3 separate regions of the Homo sapiens genome follow, and all the other regions are linked to region 2. The links are contacts of gene promoters, found by promoter capture Hi-C in human tissues and cell types (Jung and others, 2019). All regions are on one chromosome and are shown on one strand. The core of a region is centred on a gene start or on the middle of the fragment in contact, and the rest is flanking DNA. Distances in the headings are between cores, read along the strand shown. Region 1 overlaps STPG1 (sperm tail PG-rich repeat containing 1). Region 2 holds the start of GALE (UDP-galactose-4-epimerase). Region 3 has its middle 3.8 kb from the start of SRRM1.

The links. The method cuts DNA at HindIII sites, captures the fragments that hold promoters and counts their contacts. A contact is called where the count stands out against the background at its distance.
Region 1: a contact is called between a fragment that was not itself captured here and the fragment with the promoter of GALE in region 2, in 1 of the 25 tissues and cell types used here (liver).
Region 3: a fragment that was not itself captured here is called in contact with the fragment with the promoter of GALE in region 2 in 1 of the 25 tissues and cell types used here (aorta).

The regions. Positions count from the first base shown.
Region 1 is chr1:24,407,775-24,411,281 of GRCh38, reverse strand. All of the region lies in intron 1 of STPG1 (sperm tail PG-rich repeat containing 1), which reads left to right. Among named protein-coding and RNA genes, the nearest start is that of STPG1, 4.3 kb to the left of the region's middle. The HindIII fragment of the contact is 5,786 bases long and covers 1-3,507 here.
Region 2 is chr1:23,798,429-23,802,003 of GRCh38, reverse strand. GALE (UDP-galactose-4-epimerase) reads left to right here and starts at 1,250. Exons shown (of 12, transcript NM_001008216.2): 1 at 1,250-1,292; 2 at 2,568-2,638; 3 at 2,992-3,117; 4 at 3,274-3,389. The coding sequence starts at 2,997. It overlaps HMGCL (3-hydroxy-3-methylglutaryl-CoA lyase), which reads left to right. Exons shown (of 9, transcript NM_000191.3): 9 at 1-119. RefSeq lists silencers at 840-1,049, 1,210-1,689, 1,740-1,839. The HindIII fragment of the contact is 13,480 bases long and covers 1-3,575 here.
Region 3 is chr1:24,637,564-24,641,478 of GRCh38, reverse strand. No RefSeq gene overlaps it. Among named protein-coding and RNA genes, the nearest start is that of SRRM1, 3.8 kb to the left of the region's middle. The HindIII fragment of the contact is 5,786 bases long and covers 1-3,915 here.

The DNA of each region.
Region 1 (3,507 bases), core at 906-3,405, 610 kb before region 2:
CAAGTCACTTAACCCCCCACCAAACTTAAGTTTTCTCATCTGTAAAAAGTGGGGATTATACCTCACTGGATTATTATAAAAATTGCATAAGGTATTCCATAGAAGGCATTTAGGACTGTGCAGGCTCAATAAATGATAGCTATTATTTTAAGTTGTTAATACGATATCCCTGTGCGTATATTAAAACCCTACATTAATACAAGCCTACTGCAGGATAGGCAGTGTTAACCACTTCACATGGATCAGCCTAAGAGGAAGGTACTGTTATCACTCCCAGTTTATGGAGGAGGAAATAGGCTCAGAAGTTTAAGTGACTCATCGAGAATCAGAGCTATTAAGTGGCAGGCCATAACCTTGAACCCAGGACTGGATACTCTGGACTGCTGCGCTGGCCCCCACGTAGGAATCGCTTAAACATATGTTGTTGATTCGGAAAGTGGTATATCTTCACTGCTCTTTCTTAGATTCTAGGTCCATGCCATCCTGTCATGGACAGTTATACAGGTGGACCAGTGAGGCACACCTGGGCAGTGCTCTGTTCACATCTGTCCTGCACCTGCTCTCATCCTGCCTTCACAGGTATGCAGTGAGAAGACTGGAAAGCATTATTAACAGTGTGGTCTTTTGGTGGTAGGATTGGGGATTGTTTTTTATTTGTTTGTTTGTTTGTTTTGAGACGGAGTCTCGCTCTGTTGCCCAGGCTGGAGTGCGGTGGCGCGATCTTGGCTCACTGCAATCTTCACCTCCTGGGTTCAAGCGATTCTCCTGCATCAGTCTCCTGAGTAGCTGGGACTACAGGTGCACGCCACCATGTCCAGCTAATTTTTGTATTTTTAGTAGACATGGGGTTTCACTGTGTTAGCCAGGATGGTCTGGATCTCCTGACCTCATGATCCGCCCACCTCGGCCTCGCAAAGTGCTGGGATTACAGGTGTGAGCCACAGCGCTCGGCCATGGATTGCAGATTGTTTAAAGTTTTTTTGTAATTTATCATATTTTCTTAAATGTTGACAGTGTACATACATTATTATTATAGTAGTCCTCCCTTATTCAAGGGGGATATGTTCCAAGACCACCAGTAGATGCCAGTGAAACAGTGGATAATACCCAAACTGATTACTGTCAATCAGACTGTTTCTGTTCATATCTTCCACTCACAAATTTAATGCTTTTTCCATCTTAACTAAGCACTTATCATGCTCTGTGGCAACAGCTTTTTATAGTTTGAGGTGAAGCACCAAAACTAGCACCAATTTTTTTCCCCTTTGAAATTTGATGGATAGAAGTTTTATTCTTACTGTAGATCTTAGCAACCTCAGAATACAGTTTTTTTCTTGCCTTATTAAGTCAAGAACTTTCACCTTTTCACATAAAGGAGGCACTTTACAGCTTGTCTTTGGCATGTCCAAAGTGCTGGCATCACTACTCTTGTGCTTTGGGGCCATTATTAAGTAAAGTAAGAGTTACTTGAACACAAGCACTGAGACAACGTGATGGTGGATCTGACAATCGAGATGGCTACTAAGTGACTAATGGTGGGGTAGCAAATACAGCTTGAATGTGCTGGACAAGGATGATTCACATCCCAGGTAGGGTGGAGTCAGACGATAGGAGATTTCATCACATGCCTCAGAATGGTGCATAATTTAAAGCTGATGAATTATTTATTTCTGGAATTTTCCATTTAATATTTTCAAACCACAATTGACCATGGGTAACTGAAACTGGAAAATAAAGCTACAGACAAGGGTGGACTACTGTAAAACAGGAAGCTTAATATTTTTCTAATCACTCATAATTCCAGAACACTAATACATTTTTTAATAACAGCTTTATTAAAGCTAGGGCAGTAGATGGTTCTTACTAAAATGGTATAACACTGAGGGGTGGTAAATGAATAGTGGCTGCTTTGGTTATTTTTTGAGACAGGGTCTCACTTTGTCACCCAGGCTGAAGAACAGTGGCACGAACATAGCTTACTGCAGCCTTGACCTCTTGGGCTCAAGTGATCCTCCTGCCCCAGCCCCTAAGGTAGCTGGGACTACAGGCACATGCCACCATGCCTGGTTAATTTTTATATTTTTTGTAGAGACGGACTTTCACCATGTTTCCCAGGCTGGTCATGAGCTCAAGCTATCGCCTAACCTCGGCCTCCCAAAGTGCTGGGATTACAGGAGTGACCCACCACACCCAGCCCTAGGGGCTGCTTTTATAGATACTAAAAGACCTTGTTAAGCTGGATTGGTGATTGTGCTTTGATCATTATTGATTTGTTTCTGTTATTTTGAATCTCTTAATTTCTTGAAGAATGTTGTCAATAATTCTATTAAATATCAAATTTTTAGTATAGATTGTCCACCAAAAAAAAGTTGAAAATTGCTGCTGTGAGGATTACAGAATAAAGTAAGGAAAAATACTGCATGGAAAAGGACCAGTAGAGTGTAAAATCATTTATTCAATCCTTTACTCATTAGTATATATAAATGGTATAAGTTCCTTAGGGAAAAAAATGGGCAAAATGAAACCCAAGTCTGCTAATAAAAAATAATTGCTATGGAAATTAAATTGTGCCCTTGCTATTAACAACTAAAAAGTAGTTAAATGTGTTAAACAACTCACATTGGACAACAGGCACAGTACAATAATCCCTGAAGGAAGAAAAACACGGTGAGTCCTACAATTGCCCCCATTTAGTACTGGGGTCAGTTTTTAGGCCATATTGTAGGAAATCCAAATGAATTCTAGATTTCTGAGTTGAGAAGATAAAAATAAGAATTCAGAGAGGCCAAAGAGGCTAGAATTTATAGGGAGAACCCTAAAGGAAGGAGCTGCACCAAAAATGTTCAGAAACCTGAAGAGAGGTCTCCTTAAGTTTTTGGCTGAGCAGTAATCTGCACATGCATGAGAAGAAACTAAGACTGGGGAAATACCCATCAAAAGGCCATAGGCTGAACAATTTCTGGGGCTTAAACAGAACTGGGAATGTTGCATGTTACCATAAACCAGAATGCAGAGACATGGTATTAGATAGGAATTGGGTAGAGTTCACAGAAATGTCATGCCTTAGTAGTGGGGATAAATTATTCCCAGAATAAAAGCTGCTCTGGACTTGCCATAACAAAGTTTAAAAGCTTGAAAGGGTCAGATGGATCTACAAGTTACTGAAAAGTGTGCCACATCCTTTGCAGGAATATATCAAAACCCAGCACCCAGCAATGTAAAATTCAAAATGTCCAATATCTAATACAAAATTACCAGACATGAAAAGGAAAATATGACCCATATCTGAGAGGAAAATCAACCAATAGGAACAGACTTAAAAATGACAGATTATAGAATTAGTACAAAGAAACCTTAAAGCAGCTACTATGAATCTTACAAATATTCCTAAGGATGTAAAGGAAACTGAACATGATGAGGCTAGAAATAGAAGACATAGAAAAAGAGCCCAAATGTAACCTCTAGAAAGAAAAAATACAATATTTGAAATAAGAATGCAATGGATGG
Region 2 (3,575 bases), core at 1-2,500:
GGAAAGTGGAGAGCTACGTGGTGGCCGTCTGCCAACTCCAGCATCTCTGGAAAATCTCCACGCTGAATGTGATTTTTGAAAACAGCTTATGTAATTAAAGGTTGAATGGCACATCATAATTCCAGCATTCGGTTGTGCAGCTGTGTGTATACATGCGCGTGGGGGAGTAAAATACTTTACCATGTTGCACTCTGAGAGGAAAATGGAGACTATGAACTAGTTTATTAATCTTTGGATTTCCTCCCTGTTTCCCCACCTGAGCCCCAAATCCATAGTGACTGGAAATCAGTGGTTTTGGGCTTACTCAGGAGGCTGCTTGCGGCAGTTGCTGGCCAGAACACCCGACGGGGTTGTTTCTGAGCTTTGCCTCTGTGACTGGGGCTATTGCACAAGCTCCCCTGAGGACACACTTGCTGCTTTGGGCCTCGGTGGCCCGGCCTCTCCCTGGCGCTCCCGGGCCCGGGAGCGCTCACCTGTCGGTTCCCTGGACTCTGCGGGCAGGCGCTGGCTGATTCCCGGCTGCGCGGACACCTGTGCGCTCCTGCATTTAGGGCTCCTTTGCTCTGGTTTCATCACGCAGGATGTCACATTTTGTGCATATTATTCTCTAGCTCTACTACTTTTCATTGTAAACAAACAATCATTTTCTAACCTGCCGTCGTGGAAGGCAGAGTGCAGACCGACCCTTCCCGGCAGGTGGGGGCTGAGAGCCAAGAGCGCTGGAACCGCTAGTGTGGCCTGACAGCTTCCTCCAGCTCCTTGGTTTATTTGCAAACTGGACTTCCAGCACCAGGCCCCCTGCGACCCCCTCCTGCCTTAGTCCCGTGGGATCGGGTAGTTCAAGATTTTGAATTCATGGTTTGGCACACACCGGCAAGTCTGAAAACCTGCGGGTCAGAGTGGGGCGGAGGCGTGGGCCCCCTACCCTCTGCCCCCTGCCCCCTCGGAAGCGCAGCCCTCTTCCAGGGGTTGGGACGAGCTAGCGCGGGGACCCGGGGCACCGGCAAGGACCCACCCGCTACTGGGACCTGGCGCCGGCGGCGCCTCTCGCGGGGTGGCACCGCCCACTTCCGCCTTCCGCGGGCGCGCGCTGCGCAGTCTTCGTCACAGCGCGGAGGCCTTTTGTCCTCCCGCCCTCCCCGTAGTGGCCGTAACCCGAGTGACATGTTTCCTTGGGGGCGTGGAGGGGCGGGGTCGGGGCCGGAGTGGGCCGTCAGCACTTAAAGGGCCCGCGGCTCGGGCGTAGGAGGCGGTGCCTCTGCAGCAAGCGTGGGGCGCGGGAACCCGAGCAGGTTCGGGAGACGGAATGAAGGGCCGGGTGGGCTCGCGAGGGGCCGGGGAGTCCGCGGGGAGCGAGGGAGTTTCCGAGGGGCGGGTCGTGTTCCTGGCAGCGTCCCTCCAGGGCAGGCCCGCCCCCTTTGTCCCAGTTCCCCGCTGCCCGGGCTGGGGCGGCCGGGGTTCATTCATTGCCGGCCTGAGGACTCCTAGCTCGGCCCCGCTCCGCGCTACAGCCCAAAGCCCAGCCTGAGACCCAGCCGCCCTCGTATGCCCACGGCCTAGCTCCCCTTCCCTCCAACAGACAGACTGGGAAAACCGAGTGGGCGACGGCTGAGCAAGGTCACTCCGCTGTCGGGGGCGCAGCCGGCCTCAGACCAGCTTTCGTGCTTCCCAGGGCCTCTCTGCGACCACTTTCGGGGTCCGCGCCAGGCGCGGGGCGGGGGCGGGGGCGGCTTCGGCGCGGCGGGCAGAGTCCAGCGGGCAGCGGTGGGGGAAGGGCGAGCCGCCTGGGGAGAGGGCCGGGCTGCGAGCCTGGCGATCCAGATTCCAGCCCGCTGTCGCCAGCTGTGGGACCGAAGGGCAACTGTTTCACCTCTCTGGCCCTAGTATCTGTATCTGTAAAGTGCCAGTGATAACACCTGTCTCACCGAGATGCTGGGGGAATTCAGGAAAATCATGCAAAAGTGCCTGGTACGGAGCCTGGCACGCAGAGGGCTCTTGGTCAAGTGGGTTGGAGCTGCGTGAGCCCAGAAGGGGATAGAGGCAGCGTGGAGGAAGGCGGCAGCGGGCCCGGTCGCTGGGAATGAAAGGCCTCAGTGTCTGGGGCTTCCTCCCCGTACTACCCGCAGAGTTTGTTCAGGGTGGAGGTGCGCACCTGGCCAAGTCCACGTCTACACGGCCCACCCAGAGTAGCCTAAGTTGGGCGGGATTCCTAACTCTGAGCCAGGAGTGACCGGGCTGGCCCTGGCATGGGCAGAGGCTGAGCGGGGGTTGGGGTGGGGCCCCCTCCAGGACCAACCACGGTGTGGTTGCCCCTGAGCTGGCCTCAGCCTGCCTGGCAAAGGACCTCACCCTTGAGGCCATGTGATCTATTTCCTGCTTCCTCCCAGCTGACCCTTGAGGGAAAGGGGGTGGGGGCCGCCTAGAGCAGGAGGTATTAGTCACTGCGCCCAGGAGCCAGTTTACACCTAGCGAAGGCGGAGGCATTGGACAAGCCTGGGTCTGAGCAGACAGAACCCCTTCCTGCGACCCTGGAGTCCCAATCGTGCTGCCATTTTCCTTCTGCCCAGGACTCTCCAGTCCTCAGTCACCTTGGACAAAGAAGTGTGGATCCTCAGATTCCATCTTTTCCAACTCCAAGGCAAGTGGAACTAGAAAATAAGGTGCCTGTGTGTCAGGTCTCCCCAGCTCTGCTGTGGCGGGCCCTTAAGATCACCTCACTGAACCCTCACGCTGCCTCATGAAGTTTATACAATTATTAGCTCTGTTTTACAGAGATAGAAACTGAGGCCAAGAGGCTAATTAATTTCCAAAGCCTAAGGCCAGAAAGTGATGGTACCCAGACTTGCCCCAGGGCTGACTTCTGAGCCAGTCTGGTACCTAGGGCACACTGCCGCCTCCTTCCAAAGCGAGCTTAGGGGGCAGGATTCCAGTGGGAAGGAAGCTCTGAGCAGGCAGCCTCAGCCACCTCTGAGACTCTGTATCCTGGGCCAGGTGCCATGGCAGAGAAGGTGCTGGTAACAGGTGGGGCTGGCTACATTGGCAGCCACACGGTGCTGGAGCTGCTGGAGGCTGGCTACTTGCCTGTGGTCATCGATAACTTCCATAATGCCTTCCGTGGTGAGCGGGGCAGTGGGGCTGGGGCTACTTGAGGGGATGGCAGAAGCAAAACCCTGGGTTCCACCTCCACCACCGGGCGGGGAATGTGTGTCTGGCTAGTCCCTGGGAACACAGCACCCCATGTCGTGATGATGTGGCCTACATGTACCCTACCAGGAGGGGGCTCCCTGCCTGAGAGCCTGCGGCGGGTCCAGGAGCTGACAGGCCGCTCTGTGGAGTTTGAGGAGATGGACATTTTGGACCAGGGAGCCCTACAGCGTCTCTTCAAAAAGGTGGGTGCAGGCTGGGCACGGTGGCTCACGCCTGTAATTCCAGCACTTTGGAAGGCCGAGGTGAGGAGATCACTTGAGCCCAGGTGTTCAAGACCAGCCTGCTCAACACAGTGAAACCCCATCTCTACAGAAAAATACAAAAATTAGCTGGGCATGGTAGCCCATACCTGTGGTCCCAGCTACTCG
Region 3 (3,915 bases), core at 1,012-3,511, 840 kb before region 2:
TTCTGTTAGAAAACCTTAATCAGACACTTTTCTCAAAACCTTCCAGCAGCCTCTCATTTTTGTTAGAACAAAAGCCAAAATCCTACCTGATGCACGCTATTTCGTCTTTGATGTAATCTAGAATGCTCTACTTCCAGATATCTTTTTTTTTTTTTTTTGAGACCGAGTCTCGCTCTGTCGCCCAGGCTGAAGTGCAGTGGCGCGATCTCGGCTCACTACAACCTCTGCCTCCCGGGTTCAAGCGATTCTCCTGCTTCAGCCTCCCTGGCAGCTGGGACTACAGGTGCGCACCACCACGCGCGGCTAATTATTGTATTTTTAGTAGAGATGGGGTTTTGCCATGTTGGCCAGTCTGGTCTCAAACTCCCAACCTTCACTGATCCTCCCGCCTCGGCCTCCCAAACTGCTGGGATTACAGGCATGAGCCACCACGCTGACCTACTCCTGGATATCTACTGGGCAAACTTAAAGTCCCCACTGCCCCCCCGCAGATGGGGTCTTGCTCTGTCTGCCCAGGTTGGAGTGCAGTGGCAGGATCTCGGCTCACTGCAACCTCCACCTCTCAGTTTCAAGGAATTCTCCTGCCTCAGCCTCCCAAATTGGGAGCTGGGATTACAGACGCCCGCCACCAAGTCCGGCTACTTTTTTTATCTTTAGTGGAGATGGGGTTTCACCATGTTAGCCAGGCTGGTCTGGGACTCCTGACCTCGTGATCCACCTGCCTTGGCCTCCTAAAGTGCTGGGATTATAGGCGTGAGCCACCGTGCCCGGCCTGGGCAAAGTTTTTACTTTAAAGTTTTTACTCGATGGTCACTCACTGAAGCCTAACCTGACTGCCTTGTTGGAAGTTGCTCGGATATCCTCTCTACATCCTGATGCCCGTTACTCTTTTTTTTTTTTTCATAGCTTTTATCACCTAATATGCATTTAACCTGTTTTTTTTTTTTTTTTTTTTTTTTGAGGCAAGGCCTGGCTCTGTCACCCAGGCTGGAGTGCAGTCACGTGATCTTGGCTCACTGCAGCCTCCGCCTCCTGGCTTTAAGCCATCCTCCCACCTCAACCTCTGGAGTAGCTGGGACTACAGGCCCGCACTACCATTCCCAGCTAATTTTTGTATTTTTTGTAGAGATGGGGTTTTGCCATGTTGCCCAGGCTGGTCTCGAACTCATGAGCTCAAGGGATACCTGCCTTGGCCTCCCAAAGTGCTGGGATTACAGGTGTGAGCCACTGCGCCCGGCCGTTTAACCTGTTTTTAATGTTTGTTTATTGTCTGTTCCCCACACTAGAATGTAAGTGCCCTAAAGTCAGGGCTTACTGTTTTGTTCATTCATGTGTCACTAGAAAAGTGACACATGGCATGGGTTCAATAAACATTTGTTCAGTGAATGAAGGCTTTGTCAGACGGCCAAAGACAGGGAAGTGACAGGCCTCCACAGAACAAGCCACTTGACCAGATGGGAACTATGAAATCACAACACCCCACATCTCCCTGACTATTCTCTATGGTTCTGATTAGTCATTCTGTTTTGGGCTTCCTTCACTGTCTCTGTCTGTTTGCTGTCAATCCTATAAATGTTGTTTTTTCTGGTAGTTCTGTCATTGACTACTTTTTCCCTCAACAAAGGTGCCCTCTCTGACCTCTCGGTTTTGATTACCTTTCATATTTCAAACCTGTGTATCTCAGGCACAGGCCTGCTCCAGACCTATATTTTCAACTTCCTGCTCACCTATTCACTTGGATGTCCCATAGGCACCTCACACTCAACATACCCTAAACTGAATTCATCTTCATCCACTTGCCTTCAACCTTCTGGTTTCCCATTCTCAATGAATGAGCCCACCTTTCTTTCTATCATGATTCTTCTCTCTTCCTCACACTCTACAACCAACTCTTGCCTTTTCACCTCTCTTAATAGCTTATGCCTCCCTCTCCTCATCCGTTACTTCTAAGTTGCAGCCACAATAAACTACAGATGCTTGTCTGATTATGAACAGATTTAGATTTCGAATGGCAATTTATTTGTCTATATATTGGTAAGCCTAAAATGACTAAGAGATGATTCAAATGGCACCTCTTCATCAAGCCTTTTCTGAACAACCTTCCAAAAAGGACACCCTCAATCCCCTCACTCTGTCTTACCTTTTTCTTTCTTTTCTTTTGGAGAGAGGGTCACTCTGTAACCCAAGCTGGAGTGCAGTGATGCAATCACAGCTCATTGCAGCCTCCTTAATTTCCCCAGCTCAAGCAATCTTCCTGCTTCAGCACCCTGAGTAGCTGGGACTACAGGTGTGTGCCACCACACCCAGCTAATTTTTAAATTATTTTTTAGAGACGGGGGCTTTATTGTATTGCCCAGGCTGGTCATAAACTCCTGGGCTCAAGTGAGCCTTCCACCTCAGCCTCCGAAAGTGCTGGGGTTATAGTCGTGAGCCACCATGCCTGGCCTATTTTTCTTTTCTTTCTTTCTTTTTTTTTTTTTTTTGGAGACAGGATCTCACTGCGTCACCCAGGCTGGAGTGCATTGGTGTGATCTTGGCTCATTGGTGTGATCTTGGCTCACTGCAGCCTCCACTTTCTGGGCTCAAGTGATGCTGCCACCTTAGCCTTCTGAATAGCTGGGACTACAGGCTCACACCACCACGCCTAGTTAATTTTTGTATTTTTTTCTTTTCGAGATGAAGCTTCACCGTGTTGCCCAGGCTGGTCTCAAAATCCTGAGCTCAAGCAATCTACCTGCCTCATCCTCCCAAAATGCTGGGATTACAAGCACGCACCACTATGCCCAGTCCTATTTTTTATTTATTTATTTATTTATTTTTTTTGAGACAGAGTCTTGCCATCTCCCAGGCTGGAGTGCAGTGGCCCGATCTCGGCTCACTGCAACCTCCGCCTCCCAGGTTCAAGTGATTCTCCTACCTCAGCCTCTTGAATAGCTGGGACTACAGGCATGCACCACCACGCCTGGCTAATTTTTTGTATTTTTAGTAGAGACAGGGTATCACCGTGTTAGCCAGGTTGGTCTTGATCTCCTGACCTCGTGATCTACCCGCCTCAGGCTCTCAAAAAGTGCTGGGATTACAGGCATGAGCCACCGTGCCCAGCCCCTTATTTTTTTTTAAATAACACTTAACATTTCCTGGGATTATTATCTATTTTGTTTATATGTTTACTATCTTCTTCCTTTTTTTTTTTTAAATAAAAAAGCTCTATGTGGGTGTGGATTTGCCCATCCTTGGAGCTCAATAAACATTTGTCGAAATGAGTATATGAATGAGAGTCTAAGGCTGGGCATCATGGTTCATGCCTGTAATCCCAGGACTTTGGGAGGCCAAGGCGGGAGGATTGCTCCAGGCCAAGGGTTTGAGACCAGCCTGGACAACATAGTGAGATACCCCCAACCCCACTGCCCCACCTCTATTTTTAAAAAAGAGTCTAAGACTCAATTTCCAAAAGTATTTCTATCAATGAGTGTCTGTTGGTTAAAATGTTGCAACCACTGATTCTATCAGTAAGAGTCTATACCGGAAAATCTGCTGAGGCCGATGAGCTGCCTACCTGATGATCCCTGCAGATGCAGTGGATAACTACTTGGCAGTGAAAGTTTTTGCAGACACCACCTGTTGCTCACTTTGATGCTGGGCAGATCAAAATAGGTGTTGGCTGGGCACGGTGGCTCACGCCTGTAATCCCAGCACTTTGGGAGGCTGGGGCGGGTGGATCATTTGAGGTCAGGAGTTCAAGACCAGCCTGGCCAACATGGTGAAACCCCGTCTGTACTAAAAAATACAAAAATTAGTCGGGCAGTGGTGGCACACGCCTGTAATCCCAGCTACTTGGGAGGCTGAGGCGGGAGAATCTCTAGAGCCTGGAAGTGGGAGGTTACGGTGAGCCAAGATCGCGACACTGTACTCCAG